2 separate regions of the Homo sapiens genome follow, and region 1 is linked to region 2. Evidence: promoter capture Hi-C in human tissues and cell types (Jung and others, 2019). All regions are on one chromosome and are shown on one strand. The core of a region is centred on a gene start or on the middle of the fragment in contact, and the rest is flanking DNA. Distances in the headings are between cores, read along the strand shown.

Region 1 (4,970 bases), core at 2,277-4,776, 580 kb after region 2:
CTATCAGAAACCCACCAACAAACACTTCACGCAGAGTCCCAAGAAGTCAGTGGCCGACCTGCTGGGGTCCTTTGAAGGCAAACGAAGACTCCTTGTAAGTAGCCTTCTCCTTGGCATTCTTCTATGGGCTGAGGCAGGGCATGTTAACGTCTGTCTTGTTAGTTTTGTAAAAATCATATTGCTAGATGCCAGACTGTGACTGAACCTGTACTGTGTCAAGAAGCTCAGAAGTCTGGCAAAAGAGGGCAGCAGGCCAGTAGCTCCTTCTGGTTTAGTGACCTATGAAGTTCTGCTCACACAACTCATGGCCCTGTGGTACAAAGTCAGTGGCTGGGGACCCTACACATGAGCCCAGGAGAGCACCTGTAGTCAGCTTCCTCTAGACCTGTAGGGACCCTTCCCCCATTTCTACCACTCTCTTCCAAGGGATATTTCTGGACAAAGCTCTCTTTTACCAAGTCCAAAGGATGAAAAGAAAGATGAAATTCCTAAAAGGGAGTGCATTGACTTCAGTTACATCTTAGTAAAAGGGTTTCTCTCTGTCTGACTTAGGAACTAGAATCATGTCTATGGGACAATAGCAGAGGTCCCCTCTTTCACTAATTAGCTCTATATCAACATTGGAGTGCTCCAAGAGGAAAGTAAGACAGCCTGGGTGGGGAGTGGGTATGACTGAGAGTAGAGAAGAGTCCTTGTTGGTATGACCCTCACGGATCCTTTTAAAATGAGCTAGCAGAAATCTTCTCCCCTTAAAGCCTACCTCTCCCATTTCTATCCAGCTACTAGGAAGAGCCAAAGAGTGGAATGTGGGGAACTGGGTTAATTGCTTCAATTTCCGGTACTCTAGAGATACACCTGAATTTAAAATCTAGATGTCAGTTTCTCCGGGGGCTCTGTAAAATGTGTATGTGCATGTGCCTGTGCATCAGTGTGTGAAAAAGGAGACAAGCTGTCCCTACTTGCCCTTGGTCTGCAGTTCTTTGTGCCACTCGTGTTGAGTAAGGCACAGATTCATCTCAGCAACTCTCTGTTTTGGCCATCACTTGCCACCACCAAATGAGGGCTTCGGGCAGGAGTGAGCCAAATATAAGGGCAGTTTTTATCAGTGATGTGCAAATGGCTCCTTCTCCTCTTCTTGTCTTCTCTTTCCCTCTTTTACTGCCCCTCCAAAATTTCCACCCCTGGATCTTAAGACTAGCTTTTTACTCCAGGCTGTCAAGGAGGAAAAGGATATTGTTACCATTAATTCTGAGTAAAAGATCAATAAATTGATGTTGGGTAATGTGAGTCAGGAATGATTTTCTCAGATGCCTGGGTGAGAGAATCAACTCATGCCATTGAGGGCAGCACCCATCCTCTTGAAGGCACAAGGTAACTGCACACCCTGCATTTCCCCCACCAAAAGAGACAGACACTCTTTTCTCAAGGCATTTTTTAGAGGATCTTTTAGGTTTTCCAAGCTAGCCTAAATTTCGGTTAATAATCTGGGCAGAGGAACTCTGGTGCCCATTTATCGTGTGTTGTTTCAGAAAGTTTAAATGTGCATTTGAAATATTACTCAGAGCAAAGTTCTTTGTGATGTTTATCATGAGTGGGACATATCCCAAATTTTCTTAGCTGTTTACATTGATAGTAGGTCTGTGTATTAGAGTAAAACCTAGCTCTGGTTGATTCTAAGGATTTGTGTGTATGTCTGTGTGTGTTTTGTTATATATTTTCTGTATATTGGTGGAATATCTAACCAGAGCCTTAATGTGTCTATATAAACTTGGGTTATCAGGTCGCTTGGATATTCTCAGAGTACATATATTTAAATGGGAATGTTCCCATTAGAACAAAAAAGAAATCAGATTTCAGAGTAAAACTCTACCTGATACTTGAATGTCTGTTAGGGAGCCTGTGGGGGCAAACTGCTCTCTCTGGGGCATGGGAAAGAATTAGTGGTTTGCTCCAGTGCTCTCCTCCTGAGTACCTACAACTTTGTCCAGCCCACTAAAGTACATCACCCAACTCTGTTCATTTAGCCAACAGGGCAGGCAAAATGTTCCTCATGGTCAGGTTTTAAAAACAAAATCATGGGTAAAATGTCAGGATTGTAATTGTGCACCCTTCTGGCAAATATTTCCCATTGCCGCTAGTTTGTGAGTCAAAAAAGGGGGTTTTCACAGTGTATCCCTGATATTAGTCATACTTTTCATTTCTCCCTCCTTCTCCCCACTCCCTTAGTGGGAGATGTGAAAGCCCAGCTGGGCCAATCCTGCTTTTAACAGTATCCCTGCTTATAAATTTCTAGCAAATGAAACTCAAATGACAGCTTCTGCTGATGTCATGTGAGGCAAAACAGAAACCAGCTGGAATTGCTCCTGGCAGTGTTGGTTCTTTGGCCTAGTGAGAGAACCAGGTTTGTTATTAGAAACAAAATACTAACAGAAGGCTTTTCAGACTTTTGATCCTATGTGCGCCCAACTGATGATCATATCAGAAATGTGTCTTCTGCAGAGCTAATGATATCTAAAGTAAGAATGTATTAGAAAAGACCAAATGAAATAGACATGATACCAAAGCAAAAGATGGAGAGAAAAGAATTTTTCGCCAGAGAGGAGACCAATGGGTGAAAAACATTGTTGGTGCTGTTTAGCCTTTTCCACTCACTTTTCCCATCAAACTTGGCTAATGTTACTCAGGAAGCTCAGTGATTCAATTACTATTCATTAAGGCTTAGTGCTCTCAAGCTGTTTAAGTATGGCTGAGAACAACTACCTCCAACTGGCCTTAACTTAACCCAGTATACTCAGACTGAAAGCAGGTTTACATTCCAAGAAATTGTGCAGGACTTTCAGCTCATCTTCTCAGCTTTTCAGTAACCTGGTACTTAACTGCCATTTATTGTAAACCCTTAGTGCTTTGTCTTTATTTATAGCATTCTTTAGATGTGGACGTATCACATAACTGCTACTTAACAATTACAGAAACACTAACAGCAATGATGTGGGTTACAGGCTGATGGCTTCCTATAGGCCTTCACAGGAGCTGCAGGTGGAGCCAGGTGTCCTATTTTTAGATTAGTGTTCACTCTTTCAAACCTCCTGCCTCTAAACCTGTTGACGAAGAAGGGCACATCCTGCAAGGTACTTTGCCAAGACTGTGTGGTTTAATTCTCAAAACAATCCCTCAAGGAATGATTTATTTACCCCTTTCTACACATGAGAAAACAGAACCTGAAGTTACCCAAGATATATAGCTAATATGTGGTGAAGTCGGAATTAGAATTCAGATCTGTTTGAGTTGAAAACTCAAATTCAGGCCAATCTCCCTTTCTGAATTCTTTTGGGTATGAACTTCCTGTGGGATATGCCATAAAGTGAAGGGGAAACTGAGGAATGATCTTGCCAGTTAATAAACATGAATTTAAAAAATTAATACATATGAATACAAATACATTTAAAAATTCATTGTCAACCTTGAGTCACCCAGATAAGTGGTAAATGATTGCTAAGCACAAATGTGGAGTTTCTGCCTTTAATACGCAGCTAGTCCTCTGCACTCAATTCTCTGGCTTTCCAAACAGTCAGTCAAAAACAATAGATTGGATTCCAGTTAACCTAATTCTTCAGTCTGCTTGGTGTCAGTTTGAGGTTGACGATAGTGAGACTATAGGTAAGCTTATCACCAAAACATTGTACTATGGGGAGTATAGCTGAGAAGCCATCATTCTGCGCTCTGAGATCTAGTCACTTGTCAATTAACAAGGGACCTCAAATGCTGAATTCAATGAATTCAAGTGCAAATTTAAGAATTCTTTGGTGACTGAATCTCCTGTAATTCAAGTGGGTTCATATTTCCAACTTTACTTCAGACATCTGTGTATTAGGACAACCATCTACTTATTTGGTTTAATTTTAGGAAAGAATTTAAGGTTTCCTGCTGTACTAAGGCAGACTATTAGCTTGAAAGTTATTTTTCAGAATCCTGTAAAAAAAAATCTAGCATTTTGAGCCTAACGCAGTATTTTGAATAATCTGAGACTTAAAGTGTCTTCCCTCTAGCTTTTTTCCATTGCTCTTTGCTCTCTTTACTTATGCAAACAGGCTTCCTTATCCTCTGAGGCTCATTGAGCCAACACACCAGTTGGAACAGAAGCCATGAAAAAGAAATACAACACAGGTCTAAATTCATGATACATGCCCTGATTTATTGCCATCAAACTGGAAAGAGGCCAAGTGACAGAAAATAGTGTTTACTGAGGAGCTTTAAGCTGCTCTTTTTAGGAAGAGGGGACTGGAAATGGTTCTCATTTTAAACACTGTCTGAAATACAGCCCAACTAGAAAGTGAATGGGATGGAGATGTCAAAACATAGGGAAAGAGTCCCTGAAATGGGTTCAGATGGTCAGTCTTCTCTATTTTCTCTGTTGCAAACTTGAGGAGCAGATTAAATGTAAGGGAGAGTGTTTTCACCAACTGGTAAAGTCGTAGCCTGCATCTAGACATTCACAACAACCAGGGGACCCCTTTATTCCTGAGTCCCTCTCCTCTCCTCTGACTAGGGTGATCTATATAACCGGAGGAGTGTTGGCCAGCATTTATGCCCCCACCATCTGCAGGACAGTAATAGAGTCTGAGGAACTTACATTCTGCCTGGGGAGATGTGACAGTTATATAGTAAATGAAGGAAATGCTTAAATTCCAAGTGGGCGAGGCAGACAAAAAGAACAGTAATTAAAAGGAGGAAGTGATCCCTGCATGCTAGAAAAGACTTTAAGGAGGATAATGCATTGAAAGAAAGAATGAGATTTAGAGAAGGGCGGGGGCAGGTTTCTGAGGTAGAAGGAGTGACTTGGGCAAAGACAGAGGAAGGATTGTGGGTGAATTATTCAGAGGTGACATACCTGTATGTGCTTGGGGGACACATATTTATTTATTAAGAATAAATCAATCTGTAATAAGTTCATGTTATGATCTTATAAAGAT
Region 2 (5,226 bases), core at 1,385-3,884:
CTCACCAATTAACAGCTAAGCAGAGTCCTCTCTATTTTTTCCCCACACCCTCCCTCTCCAGTTGTAGTCAAAGAATCAACCATTCTGGCTTCTAGCAACCTCTTTTCCCAAGTAAAGCCAGTGGCCTATGGCGTGGGGGACAACTGCTCCCTAGCGAATGTCTCTTGCAGTGAAGCATTTCTGAAGTATCTCGATAGAGGATAAAAGAGACAGTGTCTGAGGTCTCAATCCTCAGGCTTCATAAATGTGTAGACACCCTCCAGCCTCCTCAAGGCCCAAATTCTGAGTGACAAATCTATACAGGGGAGGACAGTGTCAGCAAAGTGGCCCAATGAGGCAACTCTTCTTTCTTTCATTTTACCTCTTTGCATAAACTCATTTGAAAAACTCATAGCAGGAAAATAATAACTCTACTGCTGTTTCTGCCCGGCCTCTGTCCCACTGACCCCAAGGTGCTTTCAGATCACCACGAGAAGCTTCTGGGTCTCAATTATGAGACCATTAAAAAGTACCAATTATAAGACCTCAGAAATGTTTCTGGGAAACCTGTTACACACCTCAAAATGGCTAACCTCTTGCCTCAGATTTACTTTAAGTTCAGAAAACAGGTCACCCAGATGTATGGGCATCCTAGCCCCCACAAGCAGCCCAAGACTGTGGTTTAATATTTTCCATGCTGCCCTTAAGAAAACGAAGATTGATTTATTGGCTGTAACCAAAGGGATGAAAAAAACCATCACAGAGCTGGGCTGCCTGTTTAAGACCCAGTCGTGGAATAAATCAGAAATGTCTGCACACTGAAGTTTTAAAATGACATTCATCCAATGGTCAATGTGTACCGAGTTCTGGACAACAAAGAACTAGGTGACAAATGTGTGCTGGGCACAGTGCATCTGCAGGTGGCACAAGGGCCTGAAATCAAAATATAATCTTCACTCAGTCCACTCAAAGAGGTAACTCTGGGTCAAAAACTTAGGCGAACCCATTTGAACTTGCAGAGAAGGGATGAGGGGAGCAGCAGAACACCCCACCACACCCAAAAAGTGCCAGTTTGGGATTGCTGGTGTGTGGTTTCGGTATTCTTAGCTCTACTGCCACATCTCTGGAGGAGCACAACTCTGTTCCAAGCAACTCTGGCACTGCCACCCCCATCCCCAAAACAAAACTCTGCCAAACAAATCCCCGAGGCTCCATTAACTCCTTCAGGTCTGCCTGCCTCTCTCATCCCTCAGCATTCTCCCATCACCTGGAAAAGCAAATTAATACTGAACATCCTGAAAGTCAAGCAGGCCCTTCAACACCCCCATGAAAATTCTTCCTGGGTTCCCTGCCCTCCCCACAGCCCCGTCCCACTGGTTCCAGAGATTCATTTCCCACACCTTCTCACAGTTACATCAACAAAAACCCCAGGAGGACGCTGCTGGCGCGAACACGCACACACGCGCGCGCACACACGTACACGCACACACGAACTCTCTCTCTCACACACACACACACCTCTTTCACCTTTGCCCCAGCCCCTCAGACACCTCGGGCCACTCGGCTTCAGCCTCGCCCCTCTGCGCCAACAGCTAGGGATGCTTCCCTCAAGCTGCGTCGCTCCCGGTCCGCTGAGTTCCTCATTTTAGTGTTTTTCCTTTAGAAGACGCCAACTATGAGAAACCCTCACCCTCCAAAGAGGCCGAGTGCGTGTTGAGTGACTCTACGCATTTGCCGCCACGCCTCGGGTTCCCCCCACGGCCTGGAGCATGGGGCCGGGGCGCTGGTGTCAACCTTCGGTGGAAGTTTGGGAGGCTGGCTGGATCCTTCTTCCACCCGAGAAGCTTCTGGGAACCGCTGAGGCGAAACCACCATCGCCCGGCCAGACCGCTGCGGCAGGGAACGAGATGCGGCGCCCCTGGGCCCCGTAGCGGCTGCAGCCCCCGGGACCCCCGCTGCCCGCCTCGCCCCAACTTCTTCGCCCGGCGCCCGGCGCGCCCAGCCTCGGCCGCAGCTCCCAGCCCCGGGCGCCCGGCCGAGCGCTGGGACCCGGCTCCCGCCGCCGGCACGTCCCCCGGCAGCCACTCGCTGGCGCTGCCTCGGCCTGCGGCCGCCTCCCGCCCCCTCCTCTCCCCGAACCAACAGTAAACACAACTTTTTATGAAAAGAAAACAAACTTCAGCGACGTGACTCACCTCTGCTGCAGCCGGCGCCTGGGAAGGGCGAGCCGGGGCCCGGGGGCCAGCGTGGTGGGCGCGAGGGAGCCACACAGCGCCGCGCCGCACGGACACACAACACGCTCGGTGACACCGGGGACACACAACACGGGCGAGCGGCCGCGGCTGGAGCAACAAAGGAGCCGAGGACCGAGAAGTTGCGGGCCGGAGAGGGAGGGCGCGTGCGGGCGTGTTGTGGCTGTGGCGGGCGTGAGGGTGTGCGCGCCGTGTGTGCGCGTGTGTGTCTTTTCTGTGTGTGTTTGTGTGTCTCTGTGTGTGTGTCTGTGCGCGCGCGCGGCGGCTGACACCGGCGGGCCGGGGCTCAGGGTCCCCGCGGCAGAAAGCGGCGGCCGCGGGGGCGGCAGCAGGAGGACAACGCAGGGGACGCCGCGCCCAGCGCACCCGGTCCCTCCATATGGAAGAAGCTTTTTGGATGACTGAACTCGCAAACAATTCCTTCTTTTGCTTCTCCTGCCTAGGAGCCTCCCATTACCGTGCGAGGAGGAGGAGGAGGAGGGAGTGGAGGAGGCTGGGAGGAGGGGGAGGAGCAAAATGGAGCAAAGAAAAAGTCTTGGAAAGGAAGCTGGAAAAAGTCCCCCAAACTCTAGGGCAGTTTTCCCGTTAACACCCACTTTTTGCTGTGCCTCAGACCCGCGCTCTCCTCCAACTTCTTTTGCTTTCCCATACCAAAAGCACCATCTTCTCCCTTTTCCCCGAACCCAGGGGGCTCCCCTGAAGCCTTCACTTTCTCTTTAGCTTCACCTCGCACCCTTGCTCTTCCATGTACAATCCTTCCCTCCTTTCGCCTAGTCTCTTCCAAGACTTTCCTGACACCCACCTCTCAATGGTCTTCTTCTTCTGCAAGACAAACTGTTGGATAAATCATTAAAAGCAAACTCATCAGAAAATGGGACAGCGGCGGTGGAGAAAATGATAAGGAAACCAATCTCAGGGAAGCCTTAACGCAGCCTCCCCCGACCCCCTCGGTCGGTTGGGGAGGGTTTGCCGCGTCGTCCATTGACAGCGCCCTGACCTCCATTCATCATCCCAGGATGGAGCCAGGGAGGAATGGGGAGGGAGAGCTGGGGCTGGGGTTGGGGGCATGGGTTGGGGGTGCTAGTGGCCACGGAAAAGTTAGTTACCTATGCGTGTGTATGTGTACGCGCACGCGCGCGTGTGTGTTGGTCAGAAAACTTTCAGAGCTGTGGTTCTCAAACTTGATCTGCAGCAGGACTCCCTGGAAGGCTTGCTAAATCCCTTTGCTGGGCCCCACCTCCAGAGTTTCTGATTCAGTAGGTGGACCTGGGAATTTGCATTTCAAATAGGTTCCCAGGTGATGCTGATGCTGCAGGTCAGGGGCCACGTTTTAAAAACTACCTTTCCAGGGCAGTGAGAAGGCAAATGTTGAGTTGGTGGCAAATTGGATTCCCTTCTTATTTTTTAGGAATGAAGCACAGGTTGTGAGCGGTCATCCATTCCGTATCTTCATTGCAGCTGAGAAAACCAAGTCCCAGCAGGGCTAAGCCATTTGTTTAAAGTGAACTGGGAGTTTGTGCCAAGCTGGTGAGGAAGCTGTCCTGGAAATAAGACAGCCAGGCTAGTAGTAGGGTGAATGGGGGTGCTGCCTTCCCTGTGTGGCTGGACAGCTGCACTGGGAGTCAGGAAGCCACTGTGACTTTGGAAAGTCACTTAACTTTTCTGGGCCTCTGGGGGTTTTGTGTGTGTGTGTGTGTGTGTGTGTGTGTGTGTGTGTGTGTGTGTGTGTGTTTGTTTGTTTGTTTGTTTTTTGACAGAGTCTCACTCTGTCGCCCAGGCTAGAGTGTAGTGGTGCAATCTCGGCTCACTGCAAAGTCTGCCTCCTGAATTCGAGAGATTCTCCAGTGTCAGCCTCCCAAGCAGCTGGGATTACAAGCACCTGCCACCATGCGCGGCTAATTTTTGTATTTTTAGTAGAGACGGAGTTTCACCATGTTGTCCAGGCTGGTCTTGAACACCTAGCCTCAAGTGATCTGCCCACCTTGGCCTCCCAAAGTGCTAAAATTACAGGCGTGAGCCACCTCACCCGGCCCTGTTTTGTTTTTTATTAACTTGTTTCTTGTCAGTAAACATACATACTTTACACTGAGTATAGGACTCTAATTGAATCTGAACCAAAAGACCTTTACAAAGGAAACATAAATGTATTTTATTCCATATTTTGCACTATTTTTTCTCCGGTATTTAGTCATTCAGGCAGAAGCCAATTTCCTTTTTGATTTATCGAGTACTTTCAGCTCTGTGCCTGGATTCTTAGGCATGTTCCTCTGGCAAAATGGATCTGGAGGATGATGCATTTTCAGCAAGAAGGTGAAAAGGACTCTGAACTCTCTCTGTGCATTATCCACCTACATTTCCTTTTCCTACTTAATCATCCTAATTTTCCTTCCCTTTTAATCTCTAACAATCTCCCCCAACATTCTCAAAGACCTATTTTTCTTTCCAGTCATTGACTATATTAGCTTCCACTTTCTTTTGTCCTCCTTCCAAGGCACAATTCTGGACTACAAGGCCTGGGGTCCACCCTGGGTACAGAACTTTTAATTCCCCCAAGGGAATGGGTCAACCAGCTTCCTCTGCAGTGATAACACTCCTTCTCCCCAGGGACCCAAGCAGCGTATCCAGCCTTCTGTTTTTCAAAGATGATTCCAAGTACCGCTCAATGAGAACGTGATGCATGAAGGTCTCAGATTCATTCTTTTATATTCCTGTATATACTATTCGTTGCTTGACATCTCAAAGATATCTTCTACCCCTTCTGTCATCTTTCTCCTAGGACTCTCCATTCTCTTACTCTGGTCTTTGGGTCCACACAGCCCTAGGCTCTGAGTTAAGCATCAGAACACAACAGAACACAAAGAATGTAACAGTCCCTACCAGCACCATTTAGTCAGGAGAATGACACACTGCCTTGTTCCTTCATGCATGCAGGCTGCTCACCTTTCTTTCTTTCCTTTTTTTTTTAAGATGGAGTCTGGCTCTCTCACCCAGGCTG

What was found. Contacts are between HindIII fragments. The study calls those that stand out against the background at their distance.
Region 1: a fragment that was not itself captured here is called in contact with the fragment with the promoter of BOC in region 2 in 1 of the 25 tissues and cell types used here (lymphoblastoid cells).

Annotation. Positions count from the first base shown.
Region 1 is chr3:112,633,152-112,638,121 of GRCh38, reverse strand. It overlaps CCDC80 (coiled-coil domain containing 80), which reads left to right. Exons shown (of 8, transcript NM_199511.3): 2 at 1-94. Among named protein-coding and RNA genes, the nearest start is that of CCDC80, 5.5 kb to the left of the region's middle. The HindIII fragment of the contact is 3,547 bases long and covers 1,753-4,970 here.
Region 2 is chr3:113,208,965-113,214,190 of GRCh38, reverse strand. BOC (BOC cell adhesion associated, oncogene regulated) reads right to left here and starts at 2,634. Exons shown (of 20, transcript NM_001378074.1): 1 at 2,175-2,634. It overlaps LOC124909486, which reads left to right. Exons shown (of 2, transcript XM_047449436.1): 2 at 1,911-5,226. The coding sequence ends at 2,636. RefSeq lists an enhancer at 1,622-2,273. The HindIII fragment of the contact is 6,739 bases long and covers 2,223-5,226 here.